Linked DNA regions of Homo sapiens: region 1 is linked to region 2. Evidence: promoter capture Hi-C in human tissues and cell types (Jung and others, 2019). All regions are on one chromosome and are shown on one strand. The core of a region is centred on a gene start or on the middle of the fragment in contact, and the rest is flanking DNA. Distances in the headings are between cores, read along the strand shown. Region 1 overlaps LOC105377551 (a long non-coding RNA gene). Region 2 holds the start of HAND2 (heart and neural crest derivatives expressed 2).

Region 1 (6,258 bases), core at 850-3,349, 1.1 Mb after region 2:
AGACACCATTTTATTTTTTTACAAAAATAGGTTCTTATATAATACTGAATTTTTAAAAATCAAGTAAAAATACCCATTCTCCAAGCATATAGGTTGATAGAATTTTAACTATGTTATGTTTATAGAGTACTTGCTTAGTAAATTACATAATAATTTTAATACAAGACAATTATATGCTACTGCCTTAAAATGTCCATACCAAGTAACAATGGATATATTTACATCATGGACAATGTCTAGTACATTCCCTGGATCCAATACATATATTTTAAAATAGTTGAATATGCTATAATATTTTGACCAATCATACAGTTATGACTCAATCAAAAAGCATCTGAGGAGTATAATGACTGGGTTATTTTCATATTACAGAAGGAAAAACACATGAGATACACAGTATCTCAGATTGTCCTCTTATCAGCTAAATGGCCCTGTATAATAGGAAAAACAGGAGAGAATATAATTCTCAAAAATATGAGGAGAGCTGGCTGCAGTTGCATGTGCCTATGATCTCAGCTACTCTGAAAGCTGAGGTGGAAGAATCACTTCAGCCCAGGAGTTTGAGGCTGCAGTGCACTGTGACCGTGCCTGTGAGCCTGGGAATGGCCACTGTGCTCCAGCCTGGGCAACAAAGTGAGACCCTGTCTCCAAAAGAAAAAAAAAAAAAGAAACTGAGACTCAAATATCATTGAGGATTGTTTCTTTTGAACACTTTATATCTATATTCAATTTTTTAAAAATTTATTTTCTGAGATGACTGTCGAGTTACATCAAGTTTTGAGTCGTCATTTTTAGAGTCTTGTTAACAGAATTGATTGACCATTTTAGCCCAAACAGTTGAACCATGATTGCTTGTAGATGGCGTTTTTACCTATTTATTCTTGCCCAGAAGAGTGCTCTGCACCATGTGGTCCCAACAATGCTTCTAATCATTGTATTTCTAAATGCTGTGACAAGAATGAACAAGAGCTGTTATGTTCATGCAATAGAGTATTATCCTACCATAAAAAAGAAATAAAATAGTGATACATGCTGCAACAAGGATGAACTTTAAAAACATTATGCTAAGTGAAACAAGCCATACACAAAAGGCCATGTATTACATGAGTTCATTCAAATGAAATGTTCAGAAATAGATAGATCAGTGGTTACCAATGGGTAAGGGAAGGATGGGAGGGAATGGGGAATGACTGGAAATGCATATGAGGTTTCTTTTTAGGGTGATGACATATTTTGGACTTAGATAGTCGTGATGTTTATGTAACTCTGTGAATATACAAAGACCCAATGAATTGTACATTAAAAAAATGTGGCATCTGCATTATACCTCAATAAAAGTGTTATAAAAGTTACTTAGAGCTATGTTTTCATTTCTTGACTATTAAGCATTGATTGATTCAATATGTGTCTCTTTTTTGCAATTTATTAATAATGTATTTTTTTGTGACAATCATAGTATTAAAGTTGTTTGAATTGGAAACCCTTTAATCAGGCTATAATTGAAATAGTACTCTAGGAATAATGCTGGTGACAGTTTTGAGTTAAGATAATCTGTTTCAATAAATGTTATTGAAGATGTGATGTATGGCAAATAATTTATTTATGTGAATGAGCAAAATAAAATAGAAGCGCTATACTTAAGTAAACATAGGAAGAGTTTTTTTACTATTATTATACTTTAAGTTCTGGGATACACGTGCAGAACGTGCAGGTTTGTTACATAGGTATACAAGTGCCATGATGGTTTGCTGCACCCATCAACCTGTCATCTACATTAGGTATTTCTCCTAATGCTATCCCTCCCCCGGCCCCCTACCCCCTGACAGGCCCCGGTGTGTGATGTTCCCCTCCCTGTGTCCATGTGTTCTCATTGTTAAACTCCCACCTATGAGTGAGAACATGCCGTGTTTGGTTTTCTGTTCCTGTGTTAGTTTGCTGAGAATGATGGTTTCCAGCTTCATCCATGTCCCTGTAATGGACATTAACTCATCCTTTCTATGGCTGCATAGTATTCCATGGTGTATATGTGCCACATTTTCTTTATCCAGTCTATCATCGACGGGCATTTAGGTTGGTTCCAAGTCTTTGCTATTGTGAACAGTGCTGCAATAAACATATGTGTGCATGTGTCTTTATAGTAGAATGATTTATAATCCTTTGGGTATATAACCAGTGATGGGATGGCTATGTCAAATGGTATTTCTGGTTCTAGATCCTTGAGGAATTGCCCCACTTTCTTCCACAATGGTTGAACTAATTTACACTCCCACCAACAGTGTAAAAGCATTCCTATTTCTCCACATCCTCTCCAGCATCTGTTGTTTCCTAACTTTTTAATGATCACCATTCTAACTGGCATGAAATGGTATCTCATTGTGGTTTTGATTTGCATTTCTCTAATGACCAATGATGAGCTTTTTTTCATATGTTTGTTGGCTGCATAAATGTCTTCCTTTGAGAAATGTCTGTTCATATCCATTGCCCACTTTTTGAAGGGGTTGTTTATTTCTTGGAAATTTGTTTAAGTTCCTCGTAGATTCTGGATATTAGCCCACTGTCAGATGGATAGATTGCCAAAATTTTCTCAACATGTAAAGAGTTTTAATAGGCCAATGTATGCCATGGCGGAACTTAGTTTGTGTTTCCTGTCTTCGGGAATACCAACTTTACACTCTGCAACTGGGTCTATTGAAGAATACTCATAATTACAAGAATAGATTAGCACAGAGAACGGGCAACCCCTGACATTTGCTGCTAGTTCCATAAGTTTTAAACCAATTCCATTTTATTTTGGTGACACAACTGATAAATAAAGTCCTCCTAAATGGACATTTTATCCCTCTTACAGCTACCCTCGTGGTTGAACTATTTATAAACTATTCCTTTACATGCAAGTGGTTGCATCTTACTATTAATAATTATGTTGTTTATTATTTAGTGTACTTTAGGGTTTTCCCCCTTTCCCAAATGAAACCATTTTTCAATCAATTTGTCTTAGATAGGAGAAGTAAACTTTTTCCTATTTTATACAGTTCCTTTCTAGGTAGCTTCCAAACGAATGCCATTCTTACAGTCTTCTTAAAGTTTTCTTACACACAGATTGCATGCTATCTTTATACTATTTCTGTATGAGATTTCTCTTATCTTGGCCACAGCTAATGAAACCAGGAGTGGTTATGTAAACCAAACTAAGTCAACTTATAAAGTGGCTAAAAGATTGAGAGGTAGCCCAGATGCAAAACTCTGCCCAATAGAGGGAGGCTATATTGGAATGTGGCCAAAGCAATTAAATTCTTGTTTTTGGAGGGTCTGACTAGGGGATCTACTGAGGAGGTTAGCATTTGGTGGTGAGAGAAGAAGCTGAAAGTGATTGTAGAGAAACTACAAGTCAGGTGAAGACTTTCTCCTACTCCTCTCAGTAGTTGTAGAGTAGGAAGTAGTGTATGCTTGCTCTCAGGGTCTAATCAGGTAGTTAATTATTGCTAGTGTTTTGGTGTATATTTTAAATGACTTTCCAGTATCTAGAAATACTGGCTTTCCCATGCTTCAATCACTATTATTTACACAAATACTTATCAAGTGCCTACAGGCCAAGTGCATATTCCAAATCAGGATACATTAATGAACAGTAGTGCACTCACCTTCCTGGAGTTTATATCCCAATGGCCAAGATTATTTTCATCATTTTTTCTGTATCTTAATAATTAACTTGTATTACCTGAATTAATCCAAGTGAGCATTTGTTCCTTGTAGTCTGAGTTTAACAAATAAAAATGTGATTTGTTTATTTCATTTTAACAGGCAGTCTTATATGTGTGTCTTTTACAAATATTGATTCATTGAAGTTTCATGACAATTTTTAAAAGTATCCACATTTTAATAAGGGGAAATAAAGGCAAAAAGAGGTTTAAAAATTGCCTAAAGTAGATGCTGCTAGTAGTACCACCTATTACTAGCAGATGGTGCAAACAGCTTTTTAATTTAGGTAGTTTGGCTCCAACAGTCTCTTAATCACTTTTCTATGCTACCTTTTAAAACAATTTTGGTAGAATTCCCTTTGTGTTCTCAGTAATTACATTTATATGGATATGATTTTATAATCCAATACTCATCTTTTGTCTCCTAATTTCATTTTTCTTGAGGATAGGTGTCCTATTCAGTCTTGAATACACATCATCACAACTATCTACAGCTAGAGGACTACAAATACTATAGGATGATGAGGTGACAATATTATTGGTTACCTTGTCACCAGTTACATCAACAGGTACTAACTGTTCTTTGAAATCTTTCTAGAACCATCAATCACTGTAGAAGCACATATTATTGTATACAGTGACATCATCATGAATCGCAGTGATTTCCAAAGGGATATGTGCAATATTAACATATCTTTTATATGCCATAAGTTCTGAATCATAGGGGTGAATTGACATAATACAGTTAGCCTCCAGATACTACAGTAATTCTTCTGCAAGATGACTTACGTTGTTATATAATATCACTGAGAAAGTTTTCAATGTCATTCTCACCTTTGCTATGTGTAAATCTCTATTGGTTTGGATACACTTTTTTTTTTTTCATTTTCTTTAGGTTGTTTTACTACGTAAAATTGTGTGAAAAGGTTGAAAACGTGGATACTTGAAACCCGTATGCAACATCTGGTTGACCTCATTCTGCCTCCTCAATGTATAAAAGTGTGATAAACACCATATACAAAGTATTATATTCACACTCATTACTGACAAGCATATTTTGAATATGATTTACCTTCCCATTTTTGTTTCAATGATTGAATCTTGATGTAATTTGCCAAGATCCCAGAATCTACCGCAGATGTTTTTGATATTTACCCACTAGCCCCACTGGGACAATGATTGTTAAAATTCAAAGTTGCACATATTCTATTGTAATTCATTGGTGTAAAAGGATTAAAATGTTCAAAATGTTTCAGGTGGCTTTCAAAGTTATCCCCTGAAGTGTGAACTCGTTACCAAGGAAACACATTGCAAATGTTAGTAAATCTTTCACTGACTTGCTTTTTACACGTCCCCATGGTTGGCGTGTATGCTGAGCCCATTTAGCACAGTGCTGCTGGCAGCTTCCATTCCTGTTATGTTTATAAATACATCCGAGCCTCACAAAAAAACTAGGCAGAATTGCTTGGAGAAAATTCTTCTGGTTTTCTTTGGAGTGAGAGAGCAAAAAATCAGAGGATCACATTGATTCGAAATGGCTTCGCCAGGTTAAAAAATCTGGCGTGATAGAGTTGGAGGGAATTTGGGGGAACACCAAACAGTAAAACAAACTCAGCAATTGTCATGACAATAATATTTAGACTAAATCATAATACATCATCTGGATTGATAATAATATTTAGACTAAATCATAATAAATCATCTGGATAATTGCAAATTTGAGTGGTGATAATTTTGGGAACATGTGATTAACGTATTAGAGATCAGAGTAAAAATTTGCCTTGTAATAATAACACTTTCTGGGACAAATAAAAGACCATTTTGTATTTTTAAATAATCTTTTTAACCACATGAAATGTACTATAAAAAAATTGTGGTTATATTGTCATTCAGATTCTTTTTTACTCTCAACTTTCCGACTTCAAGGCATGTGTAAGTCCATAAATTCTCAATGTGAGAGGTGTGGTGCACTGCAATGCATTATTGTATCTGTTTTGAAAGGTAATATAACTCCCTGTAATGTGGAAGGACACAGGCACAAGACAAATAAGCCATAAATAGAATTGATACTTATATCCAGTCAGAATAGTTATATTTAATTTTCTTAAGAAAATGATTAAATAATCTAGGCTACAGTCACCCTGACAATCCATTGTATGTCTCAATTTCCACTATAACCAACATTTGATAACTGGCTATATTTCATTGATTCATTTATTAGACGACCACATACTACTGATTACTTACTAGACAAGTGCTTGAGGTTTCAAAAATAAATAATAAATGGTCCTTACTCTAGGGATTGCAGTTTTAGTGGTGGCATGTATATACAGCAATTACAGTCATGTGGTATTAGAGACATGAATTAGAATGTGTGTAAGTCTTCTGTTGATCTTGATCCTCATTACTAAACTTTAACTCACCCCATTAATGGAAAGACTGTAAAAACTATCCATCTTGTTGTATGAGGAACAGCTTACTCATGGTTTCAAGCATGGAGTCACATTCACTATGACTGGGTAAAGGTCTCGGTGACTAAATCAGGTTAATACTAGGCGAG
Region 2 (5,928 bases), core at 755-3,254:
GCATAGTATGAGAACAACCACAAAACTCAGGGCTCAGTCTCTGGCAGCCTCCTTCTGGGAGTGGGGTAGGGGGTGCGATCAATAGTGAAATAATTGGAATCAAGGGCTTCTTCGAGACTTATTCTGGAAACATCTGAAAGCAAGATTGGATTGGAGGCCAAAAGAAGGGTCTAACAGAGACGGGGTGAGGCATCCAGACCAGTGCGATCGCGATCGATCGCGACCCAGAGTTTTCAAGGTCCGTCCTAAGTACTAGGGGAGCAGCGATAACCCGGAGGTAAGATCACCAGCGCAAAGCATCCCTAACCTTCTCCTCCTCCTGCTGACACCCTCCCCTCAACTCTCTGCTTATGCCGGAAGCCATCCTTACACAACCTGGTGCAAACAACCTTGAAGCGGGACGCAGCCAAAGAACACGAGATGCCATTTCTCAGCCCAATTGGAAAGAGGCCGGGAGCACCAGTTCCCTGACCCCCTCAGCCCCACCGCCTGCCGCCCCCTGGTACTGACCAGCTCCTTCTTCCTCTTCTCCTCTTTCACGTCGGTCTTCTTGATCTCTGCCTTGAAGGCCTCCGCCTCGCCATTCTGGTCGTCCTTGGCCAGCAGGTCCATGAGGTAGGCGATGTAGCTGGTGGCCAGGCGCAGGGTCTTGATTTTGGAGAGTTTGGTGTCGGCGGGTACGTTGGGGATGCACTCGCGCAGTTCGGCGAAGGCGCTGTTGATGCTCTGAGTCCTGCGCCGCTCCTTGCGGTTGGCGGTGCCTCGGCGCTTCACCGGGCGCGGCCCCCCCAGGCCCGGGGGCCCGGCGCCCGGCGGCACCCCCCCGTAATGGGAGTGGTCCAGGCCGGCGGCGCCGCTGGCATACTCGGGGCTGTAGGACAGGGCCATGCTGTAGTCGGGGGGCGACATCTCGGGGTGGCCGATGAGCCAGCCATGGAAGTAGGGGTTCTCCTCATGGCTGCAGCGGCTGGCGGCGGCGGCGGCAGCTGCGGCGGCGGCGGCGGCAAACGGGTAGCCCTCGTGGTGCACCACCGGGTGGTGGGGAAAACCACCTACCAGACTCATTTCGCCCTCCGCGCCCCTCCACGCGCCCCAGCGTGCGCGCAGCCCCGCCGCGCCCTCGGCCCGGGCCCCTGCCTCAGCGCTCGGCGTCCTCCCCCACCCCCCACCCCCCAGCCCCCGGGCGCCCGGGCCCGCCCGGCAGCCGCAGAGGGGGCTGCTGCAGCCCGGGCCCCGTCCCCCCGCCTGGCCAGCCGGGCCCGCCTCAGCAGCGCTGCGGCCGCCGGCTCCCCATGGGGCGCGGCGAGCTGGTCCTGGCACCGTGCGCCCCTGGCCGCCGCCGCCGCCGCCTCCGGTTCCCGCCTTGCTCCACGGCCCGCGCTTCGGCTCCTGCTTCCCGGGCTGCTGCGCGGAGGCAGAATCCTCTCGTGCTCATACAAAGGTGCCGGGGCTCCCGCGAGGCTGGTACGCGGAGTCTCGGGAATCCAAGCCCGGGCCGCGGTCCTGGCACCGAAGCTAACCCGGAATCCAGGGGCGAGTCTGAGCCGCGGCTGGAGGAGCCGGTCCAGCTGTGCCGGGGGGCGGCGGGGTCGACTGCTCACTGCAAAGCTACCTCCGTGCGACCCTCCCCTTCCCGCCTCTTCCCCTCCCCCCACCAGCCCGATCTGGGTTCTTGGGCGCTTATTGTTTTAATGAAATTTTTGGTTGTTGTTGTTTTGGTCCTTAAATGTGATTTTAGCTGCGAGTAACGTGTCCTCGCTCCTCTCGCGCTCTCTCGGAGGGTTTTCAGAGAGGTCTCAGTGCATCCATTTTCTCAGATCCTCTCCTTTCGGGGCAAGGATCTGGGGCCCTGAATGAGCCTTGGAGCTCGAAGACCGCGGCTCGGGCTCTCGGAGGGCTCTGCGCGGTGGCCGAGGAAGCTCCGGGGTGACGGCGGTGGTTCTCCTGGGCTGGACGACGTGAGGGGAGCAAGCGGATTTTCCCAGCAAGATCTCCATGTACAGCTACATCTTTAGGGCCGCTCGGGTTAATATATGTCGTCAGAGGCTCCTCACGCCAATCCCGGGGCGGCAGGGGCGGCGCCTCGAGCTCTCGGCAATAAAACTTTTTGATGTTCACGTTGCTAATTGCCGAGGTCCTCTTCCAGGATTGGCTACCTCCTCATAACCATAAGATAATTAAAACTTGGCGGGGGGGGGGGGCAGGGTTAAAAAAACTTTTTTTATCAGTCAGAGGATAATGCAAGTGTTTAACAGATGCTTCACTATTAAAATATTTTCCCCCCAAGTCTCAAATATTGAAGAATCTCTAACCAGGTACAGTATCACTCTGCTCTCTTTTCTGGTTGAAAAGAAAGAAAGAAAGAAAACGCAGGTATTGCTTTTCGAAGTGCTTTGTAGGTAATCGAGGTAAGAAAATATACGCAGGCAGCCTCTTACAATTTTATGCAGGGGCGCCGGGAGCCTCGTGACGGGCGGTGGGGGCCCCCACAAAGGCGCGGCTGGGAGCTGGCGCTCTTTGCCCCAGCAGGGACGAGGAGCGGCTGGAGAAGGGTGTTTCTTTGACCCGTTTACAGGCTCGAAACGCCGGTCTCAGTGGCTATTGAGTTACCCACCAAGTTACCCCGGTTAGAGCTGTTTGGGGTGGCTCACGTTATTGCGGCAAACTTTGGAGATGACGGCTGAGTCCTCCGGGCGAACATGTCAAGCCGATTGTAAATGCTGTTATTTCCACATCCTTCAGGGACACCAGTCCCTACGAAGACCTTGGGCGATTTTGAAGTGCGGGCACCTCGATTCCCCGAATCTGTAGTGTGGCTGGTATCGGTGTTCCCCTGGTTTAACTAGCCTGTTTGGTAAGTAACTGAATATTTTTTACGGCGTGTTCAGAGCTTATTTTCCAGTTTTTATGAACAAACATATAAATATATCTCTGCATTCCTGCCTCCCTCATAAAAGCGGGCATCTGTGGAAAGCAGGTTTAGTTATCGGAGGGGAACCATTAAACGCCAGTTTAAGAGGCAGGCCGGGAGGACGGCTCGTGGATGTTGAGACTGCTGGCCTTGGTGATCTTGAACGCATTATAACGGAAAATGGATCTCCACTTGTAAGTCACCGGGCCGCGGGGCACCCGGGCCGCAGCGCCCGTGTGGCATGAGCTTCTTGAGAAGGCTCACGTGCGGCGAGGGCGGGTGGTAAATGGCAGGAGCTGAAATCACCCCAGGCTTGGCCCCAAGCCGAGAGGGGAGGCTGATGTGTATATGCAGATTCCACCCGAAGGAGTTCGGTGTGGAAAACGGTGTCAACAGGAGCCCGCGGGCTGTAAATTAGAGGGAGGCGAGGGCCTGCGGCGCCAGCGCGGGACAGGGCGGCCTGGGGCTCGCCGCTGGTCAGGCCAGGTTAGCCCAAGGGAGACCAAAGACTCCACCTTGAGCATCGCCCTTTGGAGGCGGGCAGAGTCCGGCCGCAGGCCACAAAGCGATCCCCACCCGAAGGACTCCACAAGGACAGTCCTTTCCTTGCTCACCGCCGACAAAGTGGTTGGGGCAGGAAGGCGAGGTCAGTGCGAATGGAGGGCGCCCAACTTCGGTGTTGCAGTTGACTCTGTGCTCGGGCTCTGCCCTCCACTAGCCCTAGAGTCTTGGGCAGCAGGATTGAGAAATATATATATTTCAGGTTTGCCGCGGCTGGGCGGTAGGAGACAGGGACTTAAAAGCCCAGGATTAGAGTCGGTGCAGGGCCCATTCTTTTTCTAGGAAAGGGGTTAACATCCTTGAACGTCCCCAGACAAGCGTCTTAAAGCATTGAACCTAGAATAGGGATTAACTGAAACTAGGCTCGTTGGTAAGCGCCAGGGGCTTGCAGTTGAGCTCGGAACAAAATAGTGACCTACTGCTCTAAACCCCCAACTTGCGTGGGTCTGCAATTTTTTAGCACAAGGAGAGCCTTTTAAAGACCTGGTTCTTCAAGGAAAGAATGCAGGTAGTGTGGTTGGGGGTTCTGTTTACATTTTCACCCGGAGGCAAACCCCGAATGTGTAAATACTGGTAGTTCAATTCTCTGACATTTGATACGTTTTTGAAAAGTCTGTTTATAAAAACACATTTAGGCCTTGGGAGCAGGTAGACAAAGTAAGATTGCACTGGGGCTGGGAACATATAAAAATTCAGGGAAATTAGTTGGTTGGCTGCTTTAAGACCCAAAGGGAGTTTTGGGAATTGAAGGGAGGAAGAAGAGTCCAGAGGAGGGCTGAGTTAGGGATTGAGATGCTCTGTCCACCAGAGACCAGCGGTGAGTGGCCTCACTTTTGAAAGCTTCAGAACTTGCCACATTTAGCTTTTCTCATGCTTTTAATTGAAACAAACAAACAAACAAAAATGAATGAATTACCTCGTGGCTCCAGATAGCATTGCAAGTGGTAAAGGAAATGGACAACATGGTACAGAAAAAAGAAATCATAAAAGATGCTAATCTGAACATCAGTTCTCACTCACAGTGTCATTATCAGTTAACTGCTGTGGTCCAAGGGCCTAAGACTTGATGTGGCTCAGAAACCCAAATCCAGAGGTCACTGCCTTAGAAAGCTGGCTTGATGAGAGGGGACAAATGGATGAACCCTAGTGGTGTCCCCAACTGTAGTAACTGACTCAGGGAGGCCAGGCTGGCCCTGACTGGTTGAGCTCTACCCTAAATGCACAAACGCATCCACTTTTCTCTTGCAGTGTCCTTTGGCCTGTTTTGTTCCAGGTTTTCCAGGATACTGGGTTAGCCTGCTCCTTTGGGAAGTTGTGAAGCAAGGATGCCATCTCAAGTTTGCCCTCAATTTAGGTGTCCTGGGCATCCTGGTGGTAGTGATGGAGGTGTTGGCAGTGGTGGCAATGAAGGAGAGGGTGGTGTTGGTGATGAGAGGGAAAGTGGGAGAAGAAAGGGAGAAAGGCACAGTCCCTGACATCGATGTCAGCATGGGGACCCCACTCCTGGGCTGCACTAGTGTAGCTGCTGATGCACATGTTGTAAGTACTCAAAGGCCCAGGGAACTGGCTTGCTGGGGGCTCCTCTGGGTGCCTGTGGAGGAATCTTAGCTAGGAGTGCTTCTCTGCCTCTCCTCAGAGGCTGAGGGCTGAGCCAAAACCGGCCTTACTCGTGTCCAGAAACTGCTTCACAAGGAGGCAGCCCAGGTTTGGGTGAGTGTTTGGGATTCTGTACCTTTGTTGTAGCTGATGGTGTACCTACTGTACTGCACATGTCAACTGCCTTCAGCCAAATAGACAGAATCTGGTTCAAGCATTTATTTTGCTCCTCATGTCTCTTGTCTCTTTGCCGTCACTGCTACTTCTTTCTCTGGAAAAAGACGGAAAGAGCAGCAGAGAGGCTGAACATGGCCATGCAAACATTTTGGTCTTGTGAGATATTATTATACTTGAAAAAATCAATCTGGTTTAAACTAATTTTAAAAAAATCTTTAGTTAGGTTTTAGGGAAAATACAGATTGTCTCAGGGTGTTTATTATTTCAAAGGCAAGGGCAGTTTATATCCTCTGTTTTGCTCATAAGAACCCAAAATAAACTGGACCCAAAAAGAATCAGGCCAGAGGGTCATAAATGCACATTTTATGTTCATGGGAATTATGGCTCAATTCTCATCATCGTCTTTCAAATCTTGTTTCACCTTGTTTTTCTAACCAACATAGTGGAAGTGACTCTGACCGTTCCCTTAAGAATCTTTAATGCTCTTACATGAGATGAGCCTCAGAACAAGCTAAGAACCATCGAAAGAACATCAAGCCTGGAAGGTGACAGAAGGAGCAATGTGTTCTTGAAGATGTCACCTCAGCCCACCTGCTCCAAGGACAGTGCTTCTTGCGACACTCTGATAGCTCTGCATTCTTTTCTGTACCAGGGTAGGGTGGAGTCATTTTACATGCTATCCA

The links. Contacts are between HindIII fragments. The study calls those that stand out against the background at their distance.
Region 1: a fragment that was not itself captured here is called in contact with the fragment with the promoter of HAND2 in region 2 in 1 of the 25 tissues and cell types used here (lymphoblastoid cells).

What each region holds. Positions count from the first base shown.
Region 1 is chr4:174,623,323-174,629,580 of GRCh38, forward strand. It overlaps LOC105377551 (a long non-coding RNA gene), which reads left to right. Exons shown (of 4, transcript XR_939494.3): 1 at 1-4,267. Among named protein-coding and RNA genes, the nearest start is that of HPGD, 100 kb to the left of the region's middle. The HindIII fragment of the contact is 6,340 bases long and covers 1-5,269 here.
Region 2 is chr4:173,528,225-173,534,152 of GRCh38, forward strand. HAND2 (heart and neural crest derivatives expressed 2) reads right to left here and starts at 2,005. Exons shown (of 2, transcript NM_021973.3): 1 at 511-2,005. The coding sequence starts at 1,065. It overlaps HAND2-AS1 (HAND2 antisense RNA 1), which reads left to right and starts at 2,147. Exons shown (of 5, transcript NR_136196.1): 1 at 2,147-2,315; 2 at 2,743-2,854. The HindIII fragment of the contact is 12,639 bases long and covers 1-5,928 here.